Regions from separate parts of the Homo sapiens genome. Here regions 1 and 2 are each linked to region 3. Evidence: promoter capture Hi-C in human tissues and cell types (Jung and others, 2019). All regions are on one chromosome and are shown on one strand. The core of a region is centred on a gene start or on the middle of the fragment in contact, and the rest is flanking DNA. Distances in the headings are between cores, read along the strand shown.

Region 1 (3,347 bases), core at 182-2,681, 270 kb after region 3:
TTTGCTCTCTAACCTTTGGGGCTTGGAAGCTACCCCCTCACCCGCCCATGAGCCTGGACTACAGATCTGGGGTGGCTCCCCGCAGTGCAGAAAACCTGACCCTTGGTCTTCTGTTAACCCCTCCTGATCCCCGGGACTGTGGGACACACAACCAAAATTAGGAAGGCAAGAATCCTCAGTAATTCATAAAATCTCGAGTGGGGCAGGAATTCAGGTTGCCATGGGAAACCCATCTCAGGCTCCTCAGGCGGTGGGTGGCAGTCAGGGAGCCTGCCCTGCCACTGAGTAAAGACCAAGTGGCAGCCCTGGCCCGGCCACCTGCCCTGATCTCCCGCTGTTCTGCCCCCATGGGCTTTCCGACCGGCTGACACTCTGGCTCACTGTATCCACGTCCTGCTCCTCTCGGGCCTGGCTGGGACCCTTCCCTGCCTCCAGCGCAAGCTTCTTCCGGAAGCGCAGGCTTTACGGGGTTCAGCCCCATCCAGACCCCAGGACCTGCCCTGGGCAGCTGGGTCCTGCCTCCACCGTGCACAAGGCCTCAGGCTGTCCCAACCCGAGGCTCCCTAGGCCCCTCCCGCGCAGGCAGGAGGCCGGTCCAGGCAGTTGGAGCAGACCTGGCCTTCAGGTCTCAGCCTTCCAGCAGAGGAGCTCCCTGTGGGAGGTGGGCGAGCCCGGCTCACTCCCTCCTCCTGAGTCCTCGGCCCGCCCGCCCGTGGAGGGGACCTCTGAGCTCTGGACCCGGGTCCAGGACTTCTCCAAGCCAAGGAATCTCTGAGACTCTCAGAGAAAACGCCTCGCGGATGCGGGTCGCTCAGACCCCACACGGGGAAGGTTGATGGGGATCTCACGCCGGAGGGCGCACGGCGGGAGCAGGTGCTGGGCAGGTCATCCTGCAGGAGGGGGCGGACGCCGGTCATCCCTGCCGCGTCCAGGGCGGGCTCCCCTCAGCTGCAGGTCTGTCCTGGGGCCGCGGCGCCGCCCCTCGCTACCCGAGAGGCCGCGCCATCGCCCCTTTAAGAACGGTCCCCCTCTCCGGCCGGCGCGAAGCCCCCAGGGGCCGCAGGCGGGGGTGGGAGGGGAGACGCAGCGCAGCTGTTACCCGGGGCTGGGGCTGGGCCGGGGGTTGCGGGGAGGAGGGGGGAACGGGATGCGGAGGGGGCGGGGTCCAGGCTGCGGCGCGTGGGGAGCGGGCGGAGCGGGGGCGGGGGCCGAGCGCGGGGCACCCGGGGGCCTCCTGTATAGGCGGGCACCATGGGCTCCTGCTCCGGCCGCTGCGCGCTCGTCGTCCTCTGCGCTTTTCAGCTGGTGAGTGGCGACCCCTCCGCGAGCCTCCTGGAGCCCCCGGTGCCCGACCCACGGCGGCTGTGGGGTCCCGAAGCGTCCCTCCGCCCCGGGGCCCGTTCGCTGGGTCCCGCGCCAGCTCCGAGGGGGGATGCCTCGGACCCCGGGCTGCTACGGCCGAAGGTGGCGTCGCCTGCGGGGCGTGGGGAGTCGCGGCGCCGGGTCCCGTCCCCGGTGTGCGTGCGCGGGGGGCGGCCGCGGGTCCGGAGCGGCGGGGACAGGTGCGGGGCAGCGGCTGGATGGGCTGGCCGGACGGAAGCCTTCGGGCGGGGCCGCCTGGACCCCATCGCCTGGGGAGGCGTGTGTGGCCCCGGGTGCGCCCCCGGGTGCGCGCCTGTCTCTGTCTGTGCGAGCGTTTCCCGCAGCCGGCCCCGGGCGCCGAGTGAGCGGCCAAGTTCCGATTCTGAGATTCGGGTGGGGCGATGACGGAGGCTGTGCCTGCGAGTTTGCGAGTGTAGGGGGCGGGGGGTGAGAACGTCCTGCCCACCCGCGAGCAAACCGGCCCCGCCCGCCCCCGCCGCCCCCCATTCCGCCCGGCGTGGAGCTACGCGGAGGCGAGAAGGGGCTGGAGCCGATGCCCGGGGCGCAGCGCGGGCGTCTTCGGTGTCGGGATTGGTCGGGGCTCCCTCGGCCAAGTTTCCATTCTGCCCCGGAGTCCGAAGCTCCCTGGGACGCCTGGGGGGCGGATTCTTTCCCGGAGCCCGGTGCCCTCGGGGGAGGGGGCTAAACAAAGGCCTCGCCTGTCCAGGCTGGGGAAGCTGCTTTGCTTCGATGCTAATTGGCCCTGGGTCTCCCGTCTTAAAAAGGAAACGATGCTTTGTGGGCTGCGGAGCGCAGCTGGACCGCGCGCCCCCCTCCTCCTCTTGAAGCTAGAAGGGCCAGAAGGGGCTGTTTCAGAGTTTTGAGCAGCGAAACCCTCGGAGTCCGTGGCTGTGCAGCTTGGGTGTCCTGTGCTCGGCTTAGGGGCACAGGCTTGCGGGCGGACCTAGGGACGGCGGAGGCATCGTGTCCTTCCTGCAGGAAGGAAGGAGCTTCCGGCGCTTTCCTGGGAGGCTCGCTGGGGCCGCGGAGATAACCTGAGGTCCTGCAACAGGCTGGGGGCCCAAGGACCATCCCAGGCCTTGGAACAGTTGGTATCTTTCAGTGAGTGGCTCCTCAATGGCAGGAGTCCCTTAGGAGACTGGTGGGGAGGGGCTGGAAGCAGGAATGGGGAGAGCAAGGGTGGGCACTCGAAGACTCCAGTGCCCGTCGGATGACCTCATGAAGGACAGGCACCAGCCTGGACGGTACCCCAGTTTGGAGCATGGCCAGTGGCAGCTGGTGATGCATGAGCGTCAGGAAGTGAGGCTGCTTTGGGGGACACTAGTGACATTGGTTTCCATCTGTTGAAGGTGGTGTGAGGATGTGCTGGGGTTGATGGTGCTGGGGTTTGGGCAGGAGAAATGGGTGCTTCAGTCTCAGGTGCAGGGTGAGGCACGACTGTGCTGGTCGGATGTGACCTCAGGGTGCAGAGGGGCGGGTGGGGTCATGTTCCCGTTTCACCTCTGCGGTGGACAGTAGACAGATGGGCGCACATGCAGGCCCTTGGAAATTTGGTTGCAGCCAAGAGGGAAAGAGTCATCCTGGCTTGAGGGCCGCAGGGCTTCACTAGCAGACCTGGGGACTCTCCAGGGACTGGGCAGAGCCGTGTCCTCTCAGGGCCAGCCTCTGGGTCACTGCTGAACCGCAGCAGGGAGCTGTCAAAGGCCTTTTGTCCTGGCCGGGTTGGCAATCTGGCAGCCCACTGTGCCTCCTCTGCCTTGGGGAAGAAGAGTCCTTGACCACAGCTCTAGTCACTGCATGGGGGTAGGGGGCCCGGGAGGAAGGGCGGGGTTGTTGGATAGCCCCTTTTTTTTTTTGACAAGTGTGAGAATTTTGTGTTACCAAGCTACAGGACAAAGGGCCCAGGCATCTCTTCTGAGCGCCTTTCTCCCCAAAGAACAGTGTGAACTTTGCTGGCTCTGAGC
Region 2 (3,239 bases), core at 191-2,690, 390 kb before region 3:
GGAGCTGGCTTGAATAAAGCGGTCAGACCCTATGCCAGGCACACAGTTAATGTTAGCTATTATGATGATGATCTGTGCTTTTCGGCTAAGAAGACTGAGACTCAGGAAGGTGGAGTAACCTATTTGCAGTCACCGTGCTAAGGATCAGCAGGGCTGTAACTGAAATCAAAGTCAGCCTCCCAAGCACCGTACATCGTAACTGATTCTCAGCATCCATTTCACAAAAGGCAGTAATTCTTCTCTGTCCTGATCACAAATAACTTATTTTCTTGTACATCAAGCCTTTTCTGAATAAGGTACTATATGGACCACTGTCATTTATTTTATTTTATTTTATTTTAGAGACAGAGTCTCACTATATCACCCAGGTAGGAGTGCAGTGGCTCAATCACACCTCACGGCAGCCTTGACCTCCTGGACTCCTGCAACCCTCCGAAGTAGTTGGGACTACAGGTGTGCAACCACCACACTTGGATAATTTTTTATTTTTTGTAGAGGCAGGATCTCCCTAAGTTGCCCAGGCTAGGCAAACTCCTGAGCTCAAGTGATCCTCCCACCTTAGACTCCCAATGTGCTGGGATTACAGGTGCGAGCGATGGCACCCAGGCCACTGTCATATTTTAATTAATTAATTAATTTTTTTTGAGACAGAGTCTCGATCACTCACCCAGGCTGGAGTGCAGTGGCGCGATCTCGGCTCACTGCAAGCTCCACCTCCCAGGTTCACGCCATTCTCCTGCCTCAGCCTCCCGAGTAGCTGGGACTATATACAGGCGCCCACCATCACACCCGGCTTTTTTTGTATTTTTAGTAGAGACGGGGTTTCATCGTGTTAGCCAGGATGGTCTCGATCTCCTGACCTCATGATCTGCCCGTCTCGGCCTCCCAAAATGCTGGGATTACAGGCGTGAGCCAGCGTGCTCGGCTATTAATTTATTTATTAAGACAGAGTCTTTCTATTGCTCAAGCTGGAGTGCAGTGGAGCAATGTCGGCTCACTGCAACCTCCGCCTTCTGGGTTTAAGCAATTGTCCTGCCTCAGCCTCCTGAGTAGCTGGAATTACAGGTGCCTGCACCACACCTGGCTAATTTTCATATTTTTAGTAGAGATGGAAGGGGTTTCGCCATGTTGGCCAGGCTGGTCTCAAACTCCTGACCCCAAGTGATCCACCCGTCTTGGCCTCCCGAAGTGGTGGGATTACAGGTGTGAGCCACCGTGCCTGGCCCCATATTTTTAAATAAAAGTAAAATAAGTACATATATAGACAAAGTTTACAAAGCTTAATACATGTTTTATTGGCTATATTTTAATTAATTCTCAGCTTGAAGACACATTAATTATTGTCGCGTAGAATTTTAGATGTAAAAAGTATTTTCCTTAATTAAAAAAAAAATCCTGGGCCGGGCATAGTGGCTCACGCCTGTAATCCCAGCACTTTGGGAGGCTGAGGCGGATCACCTGAGGTCAGTGAGTTCAAGACCAGCCTGGCCAACATGGTGAAACCCCGTCTCTACTAAAAATATAAAAATTAGCCAGGTGAGGTGGCACGTGCCTGTAATCCCAGCTACTCGGGAGGCTGAGGCAGGAGAATCGCTTGAACCCAGGAGGCGGAGGTTGCAGTGAGCCAAGATGGTGCCATTGCACTCCAGTCTGGGTGACAGAGCAAGACTTTGTCTCCAGAAAAAAAAAAAAATTAGCTGGGCAGGGTGGCACGCCCCTATAATCCCAGCTACTCGGGAGGCTGAGGCAGGAGAATTGCTTGAACCCAGGAGGCGGAGGTTGCAGTGAGAGCTGAGATCACATCATTGCACTCCAGCCTGGGTGACAAGAGCCAGACTCCGTGAAAAAAAAAAAAAAAAAATCTGCCATGTGCGGTCATGTGTGGTGGCTCACACCTGTAACCTGAGGTGGGAGGATCACTCGAGCCCAGAGGTGAAGGCTGCAGTGACTGCACCACTGTAAACCAGCCTGGGCAAGAGTGTGAGACCTTGTCTCTTAAAACAAAAAAATCCAGCCCCGGGTGTGGTGGCTCACACCTGCAATCCCAGTACTTTGGAAGGCTGAGGTGGGTCAATCACTTGAGGTCAGGAGGTCGAGATCGGCCTGGCCAACATGGTGAAACCCCATCTCTAGTAAAAATACAAAAATTAGCCGGGCATGGTGGTGCACACCTGCAGTTCCAGCTACTCAGGAGGCTGAGGCAGGAGAGTCACTTGAACCCGGGAAGCAGAGGTTGCAGTGAGCCGAGATCGTGCCATGGCACTCCAGCCTGGGCGACAAGAGCGAGACCCCATCACATACACAAAAGACAGGAAAAAAAAAAAAAAGCCAGGCACGGTGGCTCACCCTATAATCCTGACACTTTGGGAGGCCGAGGCAGGCGGATCACCTGATGTCAGGAGTTCGAGACCAGCCTGGCCAACATGGTGAAACCCCCGTCTAGACTAAAAATACAAAAATTAGCCGGGCGTGGTGGCGGGCACCTGTAATCCCAGCTACTCTGGAGGCTGAGGCAGGAGAATCGCTTGAACCCGAGAGGCAGAGGTTGCAGTGAGCCGAGATCGCGCCGTTGCACTCCAGCCTGGGGTACAACAGCGAGACTTTGTCTCAAGAAAAACAAAAACAAACAAAAAAACCCCCACAGTTTATTAATCTGCCTTATTGTCCTTTGCCTTTTAAAAATATAAGATAAGCCTGTTTAAGGCTTTACTGGGAGGCAGCTGTCAGTCAGCCAGCTGTTCTGGAGTCAGTCCAGGGCAAAGGCTGCTGTAGGAACAGCATTAGCACAACTTTGCCTATTTATCCTTAACCAGAGCAGGTTTACAAGGATGCCTATACCATGAACACCTGCACGCATCTCAGTCCGCCCACCTGGAGGTCAGACACACTAAGAGGCAGCTGGACCAGCTCCCTGTTCAAGGCCACTTCAGATTCTATGTGAGTTACAGTGCCCTTGTCTTAAAGTATTTTCATAAATGTGAATTAAGCAGTGCTCACACCAGGGAGAAGGATGCTGTGAGTCTGTCTGTTGGTCTGCTGGTGACAATCAGTTAGGGTTACCCAACCTGGCGGGATGATGCAAGAGAAAACAGCACCAACAGAAACCACATCGTAAGAGGTAATTTTGGGGAAAAAAGGGTAATTTTGTAAATCCTGTGTTGTCACTTTAACATGTATGATGACATTATTTGTGCTTATTCTTCAATATTATACCTTTATACTCGAGAATCTAAAAAACT
Region 3 (2,987 bases), core at 349-2,848:
GCTGTCCAAGGCTCTCCAGAAGCAGCAGTGAACCCCACCCTTATCAGCCCCAGCAACAGCCTCACAGCGTGAGGAGGCCCAGAAAGGCCTGGGAGCAGGGCCAGCCCCCACAAGGCAGTGAGGTCGGGAGGGATTCAGCCATTTCTCACACTCAAATGGAACCTCGGGCCACACAGCTCAGGCACACACCATCGGGGCTACTGGCTGCTTGGAGTTTATTTTCCGCTTGGTGCCAGGTGCACAGTTCCAGGTGTCAGGAAAGCTAGCGAGTGCTGGGGCCGGGCGGTAGAGAGCGGGGCTCTCACTGGTTTTTGGTGTCTGCTGTGTTGATGCGAAGGTCTGCTTGCTGCAGCCGCCTAGTTTACAGGGTGGGGGGTGGGAGGTGGGGAGGGGGGCGAGGGATGCGGAGTGGGGAGAGGGGCGGGGAGGGGCTCTGGTGGACTAGCGCCTCCGCAGGCCTGGGGCTGGTGGTAACCGCTCAGGTCAGGACGGGGGCCCAGCGCTGGCTGTGCTGGACTGACCGCCGGGCTGCTTCCTCGGGGCGTCCCGAGCCAGGCCACAGGCGGTCATGCTGCTGGAGGCCTGGGGAGGTTCCGAGTGCTCTGCGGACTCCAACACCGTGGCCATGAACGGGAGGGTGGACTTCCCGAAAAAGAAGCTGGCCCACCAATGACCCGGGTCAGCCTTGGGGAGACCTGAGAGAAGCGAAGTGGGGTCTTGATGCTGCCAGCTCCTGGAGGAGCGGGGGGAGAAAGGGGCGATCCTGCACTCACCTGGGGGGTGGGGAATGGCTTCCCCGGGGCACTCGGTACTGCTGCAGGAGCTGTTGCTGGAAGTGGAACCCAGGCGGCCTGGAGAGGAGAGGTCCCGTCAGCAACGCGGGGCGCGGAGCCCCCCAGCCCACCGGCCTTCAGGCCGAGCGCTGGTTCCGCAGCCTGCACGGGGCCGGCACTGGCGCCAGCAGAGCATCCGCGTGGATGGGGGGCAGGGGCTACTCACGCCGGTAGTAGTCGTGGGTGGCCACGAGCGAGCCGCTGGAGGGGATGGCCGCCATGCTTTAGCTTGCTGGCTGGTGGGATCTGCGCATGGGGGTGGAGGAGCCCCTCGGGTCAGCGGCCTTCCGTCATGAAGGGCGCTCCCCAGCGGGTGGAGCCGCCGCGCTGGGTTATTTACCGAGGCGGGGCTCCCCAGCTCCCGGCACCGCCTTCGCCGCGCGGGGCGCGGGCGGCTCCAACCAGCCCAAACCGGCCGAGCGGGTGGAACAAAGGCGCTTTGTGCGCGGGGCCCCGGCCCAGACGTCGGGAACCTGGTGGGCGCCGTCCCAACCCGCCCGACCCGAGAGGAGCCCGCCGGGGACCCCGAGCCCAGCGCTCGCCAGGCGGAGAGGAGAGGAGCCCCCGGCCCAGCCCCGCCCCTCGCCCCCCGCCCCTCGGGCCTGCTCGTCCCACCCGCGCGCGGCGCCCCTCACCTGGGCGGCGACCCCTCGCGGGCCTCGGCGCACGATCACGGGTGGCGGGGACGGGGGCGCTAGGCCACGGAGCCCATTTGCAGAGAAGACCGCGGGAAGCCGCGCCACGACAGAGAGGCGCGCGCGGGGTGCGCACGCGCGGACGCGCCCACTTATATGCGCGGGGGCCGCGGCGCGTCACGGAGGGCGGGGCGCACAGGCTCCTCCCCGGGCCCCACCCGGCCCCGCCCCTTTCCTGGCCCCGGCGAGGCCGCGCCCCCAGCTTCCACCTCGGTGCGACTCTCGCCGTCTGGCTTGGGCTGAGCCCAGCCCTGCGGCGTTCGTCTTGGGGCGGCCCGGCCGGTCCTGGGTCTGCAGGGGTTAAAAGGCCCCGCGCCCGGGTCCGGGAGCCCAGCCCCCGCCCCTCTCCCGGGCCCAGGCCCCCGTCTCGGACGCGTCTCGGAGCCCCGCCTGGTCCAGCCCGCCCGTCCTCTTCAGCCCTTGTGGAGGCGACGGGGGCGCCGGGCGGGCCAAAAAGTGCTACGTGCGCGGAGCCCTCCGGCCCGGCCTCCAGGGACTTCGCAGCCAGAGGAACCTGGATCTCTCCCGAGTCCCCCTCACAGCTCTGGCAGCTCCGGAACCTGCACCCCGGTTGCCCAGCCCCAGGACGCGCCTGCTGCCCGCAGGGGGCGGTGAAAGGGTGGGCGGATGGCGGGGCAGTGGGAGGCGGGGCCCAGTCGGAGAGCGGGGCGGATTTGGGCGGGTGAGGTGAGTCTCCAGTCGCCGGAGGCAGAGGCTGGGCCCCACTGCTCGGAGACCCCATGTTTGGGGAGCCCAGAGCGTTCCCGGCAGGGCCCTGGGGCCCGGGGGACGGCCCGCCATGCCAATCAGGAGGGGGCGCGTTTTCCCTTCCCAGGCAGAAAGGCGTCCTCCCTCTCCTCCTCCCCCCAGCGCAGAATCCTCCCCACACCTCCCTCGGCCCCGCAGGGGAAATCGGCCTGCCCCTACGGAAATCCCGTTTCTTTATACACCCGGTCCTGGCTGGGCGGTGTCTTCCCCGTGGAAGAGAGGGTCCGGGAGGTCCGTGGGGCGGAACAGTCCGAGGGCTTCGGGAGTCAGCCCGGGTGGATTTGTTTCGTGGCTCTCGTTGCTGGCTGGGACGGCCGTGTGCCCGTGTTGTTCCGGAGATCGAGGCCAACGGATGCCGTACTCTGTCCTCGCCGGGTGCTCAGTGAGGACCCACAGCTGGGCAGGGACCCTGGGAGGCCCCTGAGCAAGACTTGGAGGGACGCCCTTGTGCCCCCTGAGCACGTGGGGAAGGCGCTGTCCTGGGCCCTGCACCGCTCTGTGTGTTCATTGCACGAGTGTGGTAAGCACCTACTATGTGCACATGGCCGAGCCAAGCGCAGGGAACGGTAAACCAAGGGAGAACGGCCTTCCCGTGGGGAGCAGTGCAGAGGCTGGCGGGGGCGGGTGGTGGGGAGAGCTCAGGTTTCAGCTGAGGTCTAAGGACGGAGGGCAGGGAACCGCCTGAGCCCCA

What was found. Contacts are between HindIII fragments. The study calls those that stand out against the background at their distance.
Region 1: a fragment that was not itself captured here is called in contact with the fragment with the promoter of PPDPF in region 3 in 1 of the 25 tissues and cell types used here (mesenchymal stem cells).
Region 2: a fragment that was not itself captured here is called in contact with the fragment with the promoter of PPDPF in region 3 in 1 of the 25 tissues and cell types used here (dorsolateral prefrontal cortex).

What each region holds. Positions count from the first base shown.
Region 1 is chr20:63,252,355-63,255,701 of GRCh38, reverse strand. NKAIN4 (sodium/potassium transporting ATPase interacting 4) reads left to right here and starts at 1,239. Exons shown (of 7, transcript NM_152864.4): 1 at 1,239-1,305. The coding sequence starts at 1,252. FLJ16779 (a long non-coding RNA gene) reads right to left here and starts at 1,724. Exons shown (of 1, transcript NR_024389.1): 1 at 1-1,724. RefSeq lists enhancers at 920-1,451, 1,452-1,983, 3,055-3,347. The HindIII fragment of the contact is 7,354 bases long and covers 1-3,347 here.
Region 2 is chr20:63,904,191-63,907,429 of GRCh38, reverse strand. All of the region lies in intron 1 of DNAJC5 (DnaJ heat shock protein family (Hsp40) member C5), which reads right to left. Among named protein-coding and RNA genes, the nearest start is that of DNAJC5, 11 kb to the right of the region's middle. The HindIII fragment of the contact is 9,611 bases long and covers 1-3,239 here.
Region 3 is chr20:63,519,376-63,522,362 of GRCh38, reverse strand. It overlaps PPDPF (pancreatic progenitor cell differentiation and proliferation factor), which reads right to left and starts at 1,598. Exons shown (of 4, transcript NM_024299.4): 1 at 1,469-1,598; 2 at 1,000-1,079; 3 at 774-851; 4 at 157-695. The coding sequence starts at 1,054. The coding sequence ends at 484. LOC102723814 (a long non-coding RNA gene) reads left to right here and starts at 1,690. Exons shown (of 2, transcript XR_430332.4): 1 at 1,690-2,987. RefSeq lists silencers at 1,146-1,345, 1,456-2,005, 2,066-2,315 and enhancers at 1,588-2,464, 2,465-2,987. The HindIII fragment of the contact is 19,807 bases long and covers 1-2,987 here.